2 separate regions of the Homo sapiens genome follow, and region 2 is linked to region 1. Evidence: promoter capture Hi-C in 16 types of primary human blood cells and fetal thymus (Javierre and others, 2016). All regions are on one chromosome and are shown on one strand. Each heading gives the region's core, a stretch centred on a gene start or on the middle of the fragment in contact. The rest is flanking DNA. Distances are from core to core; before and after follow the strand shown. Region 1 holds the start of TRIM68 (tripartite motif containing 68). Region 2 holds the start of OR52N2 (olfactory receptor family 52 subfamily N member 2).

Region 1 (6,688 bases), core at 990-3,489:
AGTGGTAACGAAGTCCTGCAGATTTTCCCCTCTAGGCAGGAATTTCCTCTCTCTTAGCCAAGGCTAGCACTGAGTAGATAGGGACGGGAGGCCCTAATCTCCTACTTGGACTCCTGGGAGATGTCAGTTTTGCCTTCTGGAAACTGAAAACAATCTGGAATAGAGGAAACAGGAGGTATTAACTCCATCATAAGAGGTCCAGTAGGAGACTTTCAAGGTGGAGCGGGGTATCTACTCATGGTCTAGGCTATACTCCTACCCTCCTCCTTCCACCCCTAGCAGGTTCTCCTGCTGACTGACACACCACTAACACAGACAGCTATTTCTTCCCCTTTAAAGCCTTCAAGACTAAGATTATATTCTCATCAAGCCTAAGATTATACAAAACTAACTGAGGGTGTGGCTCATGCTTCCTCAGAAAGAGTAAGAGAAGAAAATAAATTAGGGGTCTCTAAGCAAGCATGTTGTATGACATGCAATAAGGTCAGTCTCTGGTCTCTTTCCAGAAAACCAGGCCTCAGATTTGTACTAACCCCCTAACTCTTCCTTAGTCCTACTTCTTCAGTGCCCCAAACAGTTCTCAGTTCTTGCTTCTCCTTTGATGCTACTCCTCCCCTAGAGCACAGATGGACACCATCCTACAGTTAGCCACTCATCTTGTTGTCCTGGTCTATCCTGGATTCAGGGCAGAGGGTTGGGGTCTGCAGCTACAGCTGTGGAATTTGTCCACGACAGAGCCTCACCTGGACACACCTGTCTCACAGCAAACAAATAAAGAAACAAACAAAACATTCTGAAGACATCTGTAAAGGAAAGCTTCTATGCCTTGGAAGTAAACTGGTCTGTCTTCAAAAGCCCTCTCTCCAGCCTTCCCCACATGAACGCAAGCCCCCACCCCCAGCTACCCTGATTGCCAGGGTTCTTGACAGTCCGTCATAGTTACAAATTGCACCTTACACATGAAAATGATCTCCCCATTAACTGTTTTAACTTCACAGAGATTCCAGAGCAGTACAACCAACTTGACCTTCAGCTCCTTAAAGGCAGAGACTATATGTCCCATAGTTGTAATCCCAGCACCCAGTAAAATATTGTCAAGAAAATTGATGTTAAATAAATGTTTAAAATGGCTTATTTCAATTAATCCATTCATTATTCTATTAGAGCAGCCATTTCTCCAAAACTGGGTGAGACAGAGGGTACAGCTCAGACCTAAGATACTTTTGTTTTTTCTCATAGACCTATTTGTTGCAGGAAATTTCTGGGCCTCACCCTTCAGAATTTTAACCATGGCCGGGGCTCAGACACTGGCATGAGCATTCTGGAGTATCTGTCCTAACAATTAAGATATTATATAATTTGGAACCGAGCTTCAATTGGAAGATTTCCTGGTTATTTTCTATGCGGATAGGAGGTGCCTTCACTTGCTTATTAAAACCTAAGTGTCAAGAGAAGGACAAGGCCCTGGGAGTACAAAGAAAAACCCATATCACTGTCTTAAGTAACAGTTTTTGTGTGTGCGTGCATGTGTCTATGTGTTTGGGTGAGGAAGGGATACCAGTTGTTTAATTTTTTTTTCCTTTTTTAATGACAATTTTTGACCAGGGTTTCCATTTCTCCATCAACTCCCGGTCTCTGTTGTCTGTTTTTCACTCTAAAAGTGGATTGTGGCAATAGTGATGACAAGCTGGTTGCTGAAGTAAAAACGAAAAAAGAGAGGGTTTTGTTTTGTTTTGTTTTGTTTTGTTTAAGAACCCAGTATTTAAAGCCTGGAACCATGAGAGGTCGCGAATCTTGCCAGGAACAGCAGAGTCCACACCATATGTGCGCCCAACCCTTTGCTAAGATGGGTCACAGAACCAGACTTGGCCAATCTCAGGCTTCTGAGTTTAACAAGTCAAACTGGCAAATGAATAGCCACCTGAGCCTCTCTTAATGCAGTGCCTGAGCGGCATCATTTGGGAGCCTCAATCCTTTGACCTATCCTAGAACTAACTCCTAGAACCCTCTACAGTTTAAGGGAATCTGAGTCGGTGAAGGGACCAGAAAAACCCAGGAAGTAGAGAAAAAACATTGACATGCCTAGAAGCGCCGAAACCCCCGTCTCATCACCAATTGGCTAGGGGTACCCTGGTCCCTGCCTGTGATTGGCTGCCCCCACAAACACACCGCCCCCTGGGCGAAGCCAACCTGGGCCCAGCCGGCCGCTCATTGGCTGCCGTCCCGCGAGCGGGGCCTAGAGCCGGGTGTAGTATTCTGGGAGCTGCGGGCTACTGGGCCTGCGCTGCCGGGCTTTGGGTTCTGGGCCTCTGCCGCTCTCTGGCCCTAAGTGCTGAGCTGCCGGGAACGGCAGCTTCTGACGCTGGGCCATTGGACGCTGCGGAACCAGGCTTCTTCACTTTGAGTTTCCGCCGCGAAGCGCCAGTCCGGGCCGAGGAGGGAGGTGGGTAGATAACTCTGCCTTTTCTGAAGTCAGATCCCGCACGCTCACTTTACCCCCACCCGCCCGCTGTCCTGGGGACCTGCCCAACGCCCTGTGGCCAGGCCAGGAGCTGCTCCCTGACTCCGGAGGTTACCGCCCGCCCCTCGACTCCCTTCCCGCTGGGGTCCTAACTGGAAGTCTTCCAGGCCCCGCCCCCTTCTCAAATGCCCTTCTCAGACTCTCGCTGTACCCTACGGAAGGCACAGTCAAAGCAACCGAACGTTTAATTATTTGAATTTTCTCAAAGTAATTCATGTATAATAAAAAGTCAAACATTAAAGCAGGTCTTATTTTGAAGAGCAGTAACTACCCATCCCCAGATCTTTGCAGAGGCTGCCACTTTTAGTTTGTCCCCATTTAGATGTTTTTAGCACCCTAAATCAAAATAATATGCGTTCCACTGTATTTCTGGATTTATCATTTTGATATTTCTTTGCCTTACTTTCTTACTGCCACAATCTTGTCAATTTTCCATCGCTATTTTAGGTCTTCCATTTGTAGCTTTAAATAATGGGTATCAACTTCCATTTATTGTTTTATTGACTTTAGATGGTGTCTCTTAATGTCTCTACTGACTTAGCTAAGGATATTAACACATCCTCCACTTTCAATCTACTATCGGTTGGAACTCAACATTTACATTTAGTTTTCACGTATTCAACAAGTATTTGAGGCACTGTTCTTGGCACTGGGGAAATAGAAATGGACAAAACAGACAATGACCCTATCCACATGAAAAAGTTCTAGTATGGGAAGTAAGACAATAGACGAATACATGGCAAATGACGTCAAAGGCAGGATCATGTAGAAGTCATTTTCAGCTGGGAGAATAGCAGGCACCCAAGTCAGGTAGATTGAATGGACGAGGGGTTTGCGGGAGTGTGTGGAAGTTTATTCCTTTGCCTAGCTGGGCACAGGTGCTGTTTCAAGGAGAGATCTTGTTAACCGGGAGCCAGGATAGATTATTTAGTAAGTTAGTGATTTACCAAAATGAGGTTTTAGGATACTGGATCCCACAGTTTGGTAGTGATAGTGGGAGGAAGAAAAGCAGGAGGCAGGGAGTCTAGTGAGAAGGCATGCCCTGCCAATGGCATATCAGAGTCCTGCAAGATTTACTGCTCTGCTTCCTGCTTCCTGCTACTGGACTGCGCTAAACCACAGTGATTTTTCTCTCCTCTTGAATTTGTATTATACCTTAAAGCTAAAGAGGTTAAGAAATTTGCCCAAGATAGATGGCAGAGCCCCAAGCCAAACATCTGTAAAATGAGAACAATAATGGCCTCTGCCTAGGGTTGTGAAATAAACCAACTTAATTCATGTAAAGTGCTCAGAACAGTGCCTGGCACATCATAGAACTGCTCAAAGAGTGCTTGCTTTTATTATTAATGTATGCTCTCAATTTACCTCACAAATGCTAAAAGGATTTTGGGTTTAGGAACTATTTCCTATGTCTAGCTGGTTAATTCATTCAACAAATATTTACTCAGCAATATCTGCATTGCAGGTGCTGTTTAGGTGCTGAGGATACAACAGGAACTAGGATCAACATGTCCCTTCCTTGTATAGATTCTAGCTGGTAACACAAACTAGCAAAGTGAATGAATAAATATTGCCAACTGAGCCAAGAGCCTGCCATTGACCAAGTTCCATGCCCATATGTGGCCCTGGCAAAAATCTCAGATTTCTTGCTGGTGTAGTGATTTCATCAATATGGGTGTGATGATCATCAAATGATCTTTGTTTTAATCTCCAAGGGATGTTATTTCATCTCTGCTTCTAGCATATCACTAAAAGCTCAGAAGACTACCTTGACATCTTGGTGAATAATAAGTACATTAGTGCTGGAGCAGTGGGCAGGGGTTTAAAAGGCACAGGAAAAGAACTGCTGTTTCCTTTACAGTTTTTGCATTTTAGTGTGCAACACAAGAAAACAAATTGAGCTTGTAGGCAATGGGCTTCTGGCATACTACCTTTTGACACTTTGAATTATATTAATGTAAATATAAACATACCAGAGAGTGAGGCTGGAGGTATTTATGGCCTTACTTCAGATACTGAAATACCACATTTTATGTGAACTTACCCAAGTTTAAGAGAAATAATGCTGATTTGTAGAGCATGATTGGAGTGGTAATGGTCAAGTAGAGCAAACCCAGAGGAAAATCAGAGTTGACCAAGTGAATGAAAACCGAGGACTCCCAATATTCACTCACTTAGGCATCCCCATTATCCCCTTCATGGTATGAGTAATGTGGCCCGTTCAGACCATGCACCCTTCAGTTGGAAAGGCCAATGCTTATTAAAGAAGGTCAGTAAAGGGTCAAAAGGAAGGTGGTTTTCCCCCAGAAATTAATTATTCCTGTTACTGATCTCTCTGTTCCTCTGTTACCTTTTTCTCTTATTTGTCTTTCTTTTCTTCTTCTCAGCCTTTACTACTTCTCCCTGGTTTCATTCATGTTCTGAGGAGGGTGTGAGAAGGAACCATGGATCCCACAGCCTTGGTGGAAGCCATTGTGGAAGAAGTGGCCTGTCCCATCTGTATGACCTTCCTGAGGGAGCCCATGAGCATTGACTGTGGCCACAGCTTCTGCCACAGCTGTCTCTCTGGACTCTGGGAGATCCCAGGAGAATCCCAGAACTGGGGTTACACCTGTCCCCTCTGTCGAGCTCCTGTCCAGCCAAGGAACCTGCGGCCTAATTGGCAGCTGGCCAATGTTGTAGAAAAAGTCCGTCTGCTAAGGCTACATCCAGGAATGGGGCTGAAGGGTGACCTGTGTGAGCGCCATGGGGAAAAGCTGAAGATGTTCTGCAAAGAGGATGTCTTGATAATGTGTGAGGCCTGCAGCCAGTCCCCAGAGCATGAGGCCCACAGTGTTGTGCCAATGGAGGATGTTGCCTGGGAGTACAAGGTGAGAGATGGAAGCTGGCCACTCCAGTCTAACCCCGGCCCCAAGTTGGCTGTTTCTAGATCAAGGGCTTGACCACCAGCACCACAGACTGAGAGCTAACTCCTTTGGTTCCTGACACCCAGAGATCCCTGGAATCTGATACAGAGAGCTATACCTTTCCTTGTATTCATGACCTTCCTTGATTTCCTGCTCTCCCACTTCCTCTACACCTACATCCTAACAGGGCTCAATTCCTAACCCAAGGCTGATTTCAGTAATGAGAATGTGAAGGAAAACAGTTTGGGTTTTAACTGAGATTCTGGATGCCTTGGATGAGTTTAGGCATGAGGCTCTTATATAGATGGTCAAGGCTACACCTGACCTGCAAACTCCTCCTAGCAGTGCTGCAAGTAGTCATTTGGCATTGAATGGATCACTTCCCTCCTTCATTTTATAGACAAAAGTGAGGCTTAGAAAGTTGAAAACATGGCAATTTATTTTAGAGGTGGAAAGAACTATGGGTGAGTCACAAGATTGAGAGAGGTCATCTGATATAGTCTTCTCAGGTCCTTTCTGACTTCAGGTCCAGTTAGTGAAAGGAAGATCAGAGGCTGTGACTCAAGTCTTCTTGCACTTTCTCCTCTCCCAAGTTTGTTTGTTTGACAAGTCATCTCTGACAAACCTGGGACTCCTTTTTTGTAGCTAACCTCATCAACTTCCAGCTTCTGGGCTTCTCTTTACTCTTTCATCAGATGCCCATAATGACATCTTTATCGGAACCATTATCTCAGTGATTCTGTGATCCAGTGATCCAGCATTGGTCTCAACTCTCTTTTTTGGAGTTGAAATAGGAAGGTGAGAGTGTAAGACAAATCCCCTGAATTAGCTTTTTTCCTATATGGGAGGGATTTCTAAAATATGAAAAGTATTTACTAACTCATTCTGTTTTTGAGACTATTAGAAAAGGGAGCTAGTATAACATAGGGGTAAAGGGCTGGATGAAATCCCAGCCCAACCATTTATTACCTGAATGACTTTGGGTAGGTCACCCTCTAAGCCTCAGTTTTCTTGTCTATAAAATAAGGTTAATACCAGCCTCAGAGGATTGTAAGTATCACATGCATATTTAGAGCTGAAAATATACCTGACACTTGATATATTTTAACAAAATAGTTGCTATTTTGTTAAAATAGCAGAATTAAATGGTGTTTCTGCACAGTTTATGCTTTTCAGTAGAAATCCCTTGCATTACTATTCTAGGAAAGTGCTTCTTACCCTTAATAAGCATATGAACCACCTGGGAGATCCATCTAAAATT
Region 2 (6,498 bases), core at 2,899-5,398, 1.2 Mb before region 1:
CTTTAAATTTTTATTTAAAATTTAAATTTTTTAAGACTTGTTTTCCAGCCTAAAATATAACTGATTTGGTCTGAAGTATAGTTCAAGTCCAGTGTTTCCTTGTTGATTATCTATCTGGGTGATCTTTTCATTGTTGAAAATGCGGTGTTGACATCCCCTACTATTATTTTATTGCAGTCTATCTCTCCCTTCAGCTCTATTAATATTTTCTTTATATATTTAGGTGCTGTGATATTACAGACATATATATTTACAATGGTTAATGTGCTTGATTAATTGCCCTCTGTATCAATATATAATTACCTTTACACTATTTTAAATTTTTGTTTTTCCTCATTTCTTTTTTTTTTTTTTTTTTGAGATGGAGTCTCGCTCTGTCACACAGGCTGGAGTGCAGTGGCAGGATCTCGGCTCACTGCAAGCTCCGCCTCCTGGGTTCACGCCATTCTCCTGCCTCAGCCTCCTGAGTAGCTGGGACTATAGGCGCCCGCCACCATGCCCAGCTAATTTTTTGTATTTTTTAGTAGATACAGGGTTTCACCGTGTTAGCCAGGATGGTCTAGATCTCCTGACCTCGTGATCCGCCTGCCTCGGCCTCCCAAAGTGCTGGGATTACAGGTGTGAGCCACCTTGCCCGACCCTCCTCATTTCTTCTCAAAGTAAAAAACAGGATACGTGTGCAGAATGTGCAGGTTTGTCACATAGGTATACGTGTGCCATGGTGGTTTGCTGTACCTATTGACCCATCCTTTAAGTTCCCTCCCCTCAACCCCCAACCCCCAACAGGCCTTGGTGTGTGTTGTTTCCCTCTCTATGTCCATGTGTTCTCATTGTTCAATTCCCACTTATGAGTGAGAACATGCAGTGTTTGATTTTCTGTTCCTGCCTTAACAGTTTTTGATTTAAATGCTATTTTAGCCAATATACATATAGCTACTTCTGAACTCTTTTGCCTTATATTTGCCCAAAATATCTTTTTCCATTCCTTTGCTTTCAACCTGTGTGTGTGTCTTTAGAGGTGAAGTGATGCCCTCACAGGCAGCAAATAGTTGGGTCTTCTATTTTTAATTCATTCAGCAAATCTATGTCTTCTGATTGAAGAATTTAATCATTTTGCTTTCAAGGTAATTATTGATAAGTAAGGACTTACTACAGCCATTTTGTTGTTTTCTTGTTGTTTTTTACATTCTTTCTTCCCTTCTTTTTCTCTTGTTGTCTTCTTTTGTGATAGATAATTTTCTCTAATAGTGTGCTTTCGTTCTTTACTTTCTATATTTTGTGCATCTACTATAGGTTTTTGCTTTGTGGTTACCTCAAGTCTTACATAAAACATTCTATATTTATAAAAGGCTATTTTAGGCTGATAACAACTTCAATTGCATAAAGAAGTTCCATACTTCTACTCAACTCTCCCTGATATTTTATGTTTCTGATGTCACATTTACTTCTTTTTATATTGTATATCCCTTAACAAACTATTGTAGCTGTCTATTTTTTAAATTAATTTTGTCTTTTAACATTCATATTAATGATATAGGTGATTTATATACCACCATAACAGTATTATTCAGAGTTTCACTATGTACTTACTTTTGCCAGTGACTTTTATTCTTTCATACGTTTTCATGTCACTAATCAGCATCCTGTTTTTTCAGCTTTAGCATTTCTTGTAAGGCAGGTCTGGTAGTAATACACTCTCTTAGCTTTTGAATTTCATTTTTATATTAAATCTTACATATCAAGAATAAAACAGGTGGCCAAAGTTTAAATTATATTTATATATCATATTTTATAAATATTTTAATATATTTTGTGTTTAGCCACTTTTGCCAATAGTTTTTTCAAAAATTATTTTCTCAACTTTCTGTATTACAATAAAAAAATTTTTATCTCCAAGTAGAAAGCTTTTATCATTCATCTTCTTAAACCTTTTCATTGTCTCTCTTGTTCTTACCATAAACCCAAAAATGACTCTATGAAATTACCTGACATCATAGGCATAGGGCTCTAGGTTTAGTATGAAGCAAAACAACAATAACAAAACAACAAAAAGGTAACATATTAGGTTAAAAAAAAAGATTGTGTACTATAAACTCAGATAGAACTGGCCCCTGATTTGAGCCCACTTAATCTTGTTTTCAGTCCCTTCATGTGTGGCACATTCATTCCTCAAAACCTCCATGCCGGCCATTTCCTCTTCCTTAAACAGTTCTTACCTCCCATCCCCCTTCCACAATGTTAACACCAGCTTATCTTCTGTACCACCTTGAGCATTTGTTCCTTCTGAAAGTCTTTTCTGGTATTTGTAATTTGTGACATTACATCTCATACTTATAACACATTCCTTTGCGTTTTTGCTTCATTTGACTTTTCCCCTACCTTATTTATTTATCTTTCCATCATAATTCCATTTTAAAATGTTTTGGGATTTTTGAGGGCCTCTTAATACAACCTTGTACTTTCCTCCTCAGTTCAGAGCTGAGACACACAGGAGACAAGGAGTTGACAGAGAATGTCAACAATTTTATGATATACATCTGGGAAAATGAGGCTTTAGATTTTTCAGGCAAAATACCTTGTTCTGCCTTGCCTCTGATTTAGACTAGCTTGCTCATCCAGTCCCTAGCATAGACACATACAAGTCTCTTTCGGAAAGCTTGGCCACTGACTTTGCTAATGTGGACAGACCAGAATGCGTGGCCTATTCAGGCAGGGAGATTGACTTCTGTGAAGCGTCAAGGCTCAGCATATAGCTCACCCATAGCTCACTGATATCTGATGCTTCTCCCACTCAGAGGAATGAGTTATGACAAGAAGAATGTTGTTCTAAATGAAGTCCTTATACTTGAAGTAATAAGTGTAGAATAATTAATTATACCGTTTTCCCAAATCTCTCTTCCTTTCCTTAAACTTACTGCTATTTGTTCTTTCTCATAATACAGTATCTTCTTGTACTAAATTCAGATTGTGATAGCCTCTCCTGCATGACTACTGGGTAAATAACAAAAGGAAGGCAGAAATAAAGATGTTCTTTGAAATCAATGAGAACAAAGACACAATGTGCCAGAATCTCTGGGACACATTTAAATTTCTTGTCTTTAATTAGCCCACAGAATAGTGAAACTATCCTTGGGCAATGGTAATCATTTTTCAGCTTTTTTATAGAACTGCTTTGAAAATAGCTTTACTTTTTTTTTTTTTTTGAAAGACAATGTAAGATACAATAATTTTCTCTGAGTTCCTCTTCAAAGATTTAGCCGCTAACTTCCTGGTCTTTTGTTCTCAAACTCAACTTTCCTTTTCCTTAGTTACTGTAAAACAGCCTACCGCTTCCCATCAGCTCTAATCAATAACTCACATCTGTTCCCGTAGTTACCTGGACTCATTGTTCCCCGGAAACTGCACATCTCACATGCCTCACCACTGTACCCCGTGTTCCCCTTCCCTTCCATATTTAGAAAGATATTTGCAAGTAGCCAATCTGGTCAGCTCAGCCCATGGGGGAGTGACACAGCCCATGGGGGACCCCAGCCCATGGGGGAGTGACACAGAAGTAGAAACTGTCAGAGATAAAAGCTCCCTGCTCTCCTTCCTTCCCTGTGCTCTTGTGATCTTGATTGATGCGAGTGGCACCCTTCTACAGAAGTAAATTGCCTTGCTAAGAGAACTTTTGCCTAAGTGTTGGTTTCACTTTGCGGCACTGAGCATTTATTCCTAGAGCATTTTTACACCCAACAACTCTGGGGGCTCATCTGGGATCCCCACTCTCCTTCAGAAAGGGATCTTCAGTCATCCTACCCAGGGGAGACGCATTCCAATGCCCCGTTGCGGTAGTCTCAGGGAGGGGAGATCGGGACCCACCCATTGTGATGAATAAACTCGGACTCTCAGCAACGCGAGGAGGAGAGGCTTGCAATACCGCGGTGACCAGGTAAACTCTGTGCACAGATCAAGGTAGGAAACGTCACAGGGGCGACAAAGTACTTCCTTGGTGGTTGGGGGCCGTGGGTCGGGGCATTCTGGAGGTTGAAAGTGCGTGAATGGTAGCAAGCGCTCCTGCTGCGCAGAATGAATGAGTCCAATCTGTGGTTCTGTGGTCACCTCATATGGGGGTCCCATCAGGGGTTTATGCTGACCCGCCATCAAGGCTAAGAGGAACCTGAAATATTCCCACGAGGGAAGCGGCCAGAGTGGACAAAGCGAAAGGATGCAAAGAGCCTCCAGCAGGTGGGGCTAAAGGATAGGCGAATTGAGCCTCAGTTACGATTCCAGTGAAGGATAGGCAAGAGGTCCCCTAACACAAGGGGTTGAGCCACAAGGAATCCCTCGCCAAATAGGCGAGAAATCCCTAATATGATGGGGTTGAGCCACAGCAATGCCCCGTTAGGCAAGAAATTCCTAATATGAGAGATTGCGCCTAGCCAAGACCCAATATGGGAAATATTACAAGCAAAAATGGTAAGAATAGTAACAAAGATATATACCACCTGATAGTCCCCTAAGTCTCATGAAAAAGGATATGAATAGTAACAAAGATATACCACCTGATAGTCCCCTAAGTCTCATGCTAAAATGTTGGGAAGATAATGAAAGAACTAAACATAAGAAAAAGCAACAAATGATAAAATATTGCTTTTCTATTTGGACTCAAAGACCTAACCTCAATCCGTCAATCTTCTGGCCAAAGTTTGGGTCAACTGAGGATATACTATGTCAACTTTCAGTTTAACATGTAAATAATAAAAGCCCAGTTTCTCAAGAAGAACTGGACTATGCTCTTTTTTGGAGGCAAAGACCTGTCCTCCCTTTCCCTTATGCACCTGCCCCTACTGTGGAGACAGTGAAGGAGGGTTCTCAGAGGATCCTAGCAAAGAAAACAGCACATAGGATTCCCTGGACCATCCTTTACCTAATGCCCCTAGTCCCCCATCTAATACCCCCAACCCTTCCCCTCAGGCCCAGCCTAAGTCCTCCTCTGTGAAAGGAATCCAAGCTCCTCATTCGCCAGGTGGCTTTTGACAGGCTAGCGACATCAAGGATCTGCCTCAACATGTTGTCGTTGTCGTGCAGCCTCTAGTGCGCCCCCACAGCAGAAAAAGCCCATGCTCTGCCGCAGCCTATGCCTAAGCAGACTACATTATGGGACATATGCCTTACTTTTGCCAGGGTCAAGTAATACAGGCTTCAGATGCGGCTCCAAGCAGCTAGGCATCCCCGCGGCTAAGTTTCCTGAACAAGTAGTAGATAATCTTTCAGCTGATATATCCGCTAGCATTTATTATGGGTCAGGCCAGTATTAAAAGTGAAAATATCCACCAGAAAAGACTTTGATTATTTAAAGTCACTTATATTAAAATGTACCACCAGAAAAGTATTACATGTGTATAAGTACGAGTTTAAAAGTATAGTTTAACATTAATGACTGATAATTCGCTTAATCTAGCAAGTTTCTTAATGAGATATCCAAAGCTAAAAAGAAAGCACACGTGTTTAGATTTAACTGATTACAAACGTTCGGCCAAACTTAGAAGAAACCCTCTTCAGGAATGATTAAGGGAAAAAGAACGCAACAGGTGTTCAGTAATTAATAAAGAAGTTCCTAGAGAAATTTATAAGCTGTCTGCACTTAGTCAAGCTTTAAATTACCTGCAGGACCAGGAAAGAACCATCTGTACTAATTCTAAATATGCCTTTACAGTGGCTAATACATTTAGCAAATTTCAGACTGGATTAATAGTAAAAGTCAAAGCCTTGTTCATGAGGAGTTAATCACCCAAGTATCTATTGTCCATGTCCCCAAGCACCAGAAAAGCCTGTCTTTTAAAATAACCTAGCAAATCAGATAAGCCGAACAGGCTGCTGTTTCTCCTGTAGGCACTAAAGGGAACTCAGAAAAACATTACCCATTAAAGACCCCAAGCGATGTATAACACAGTCAAAGTTTATATGTGTTTAGGAATTTATACCCTTAGCCAAACAAGTCTAGAGACTTGGTTGCCATAGATGAAATGTCTTCTATCTTCCTATTACCCTAGTAAGTCCAAACTACCTCCCAAAACAATCTACTGCCAACATTCCTACATACTTGGTTTATCTTCCACTTTCTCTTCCCTCAGAACTCAAAATTTTCCGGTACAGGTGCCACCCCTAAAGTTCCCAGTATATTGACACCAGCCTGAGGAGCTGGCCTAGTGCTTCAAACCACTGAAACTGCAGTCCAAACAGCAAGAAAAGATGGACCCATCATACCCGAGTCAAGAAAGCACCACCATCCCCAAAGTCATGGACCATTATTCAAGGGAAAAAACCCCTCAAACTAAAGTTAAGGAAAGTTTAACTCTCTTTTATCTATTCTATTACCCTTTCTTCTTTCCTCATTCTATTGCTGACCTTATTATCAATGTAACTAAGTCAGACTCATCCCAAATCATTACCTTTGAGGCTTGCCTTGTTATGCCTTGTGAAGAGGACGAACAATGGCAAAGGTATGTCTCTCCT

What was found. The method cuts DNA at HindIII sites, captures the fragments that hold promoters and counts their contacts. A CHiCAGO score of 5 or more calls a contact.
Region 2: a contact is called between a fragment that was not itself captured here and the fragment with the promoter of TRIM68 in region 1, in 1 of 17 cell types (naive CD8 T cells). The highest score is 5.4, in naive CD8 T cells.

What each region holds. Positions count from the first base shown.
Region 1 is chr11:4,603,782-4,610,469 of GRCh38, reverse strand. It overlaps TRIM68 (tripartite motif containing 68), which reads left to right and starts at 2,239. Exons shown (of 7, transcript NM_018073.8): 1 at 2,239-2,443; 2 at 4,909-5,391. The coding sequence starts at 4,966. RefSeq lists silencers at 2,075-2,284, 2,595-2,674. The HindIII fragment of the contact is 6,370 bases long and covers 819-6,688 here.
Region 2 is chr11:5,806,355-5,812,852 of GRCh38, reverse strand. It overlaps OR52N2 (olfactory receptor family 52 subfamily N member 2), which reads right to left and starts at 3,929. Exons shown (of 2, transcript NM_001005174.3): 1 at 3,799-3,929. The HindIII fragment of the contact is 2,979 bases long and covers 2,659-5,637 here.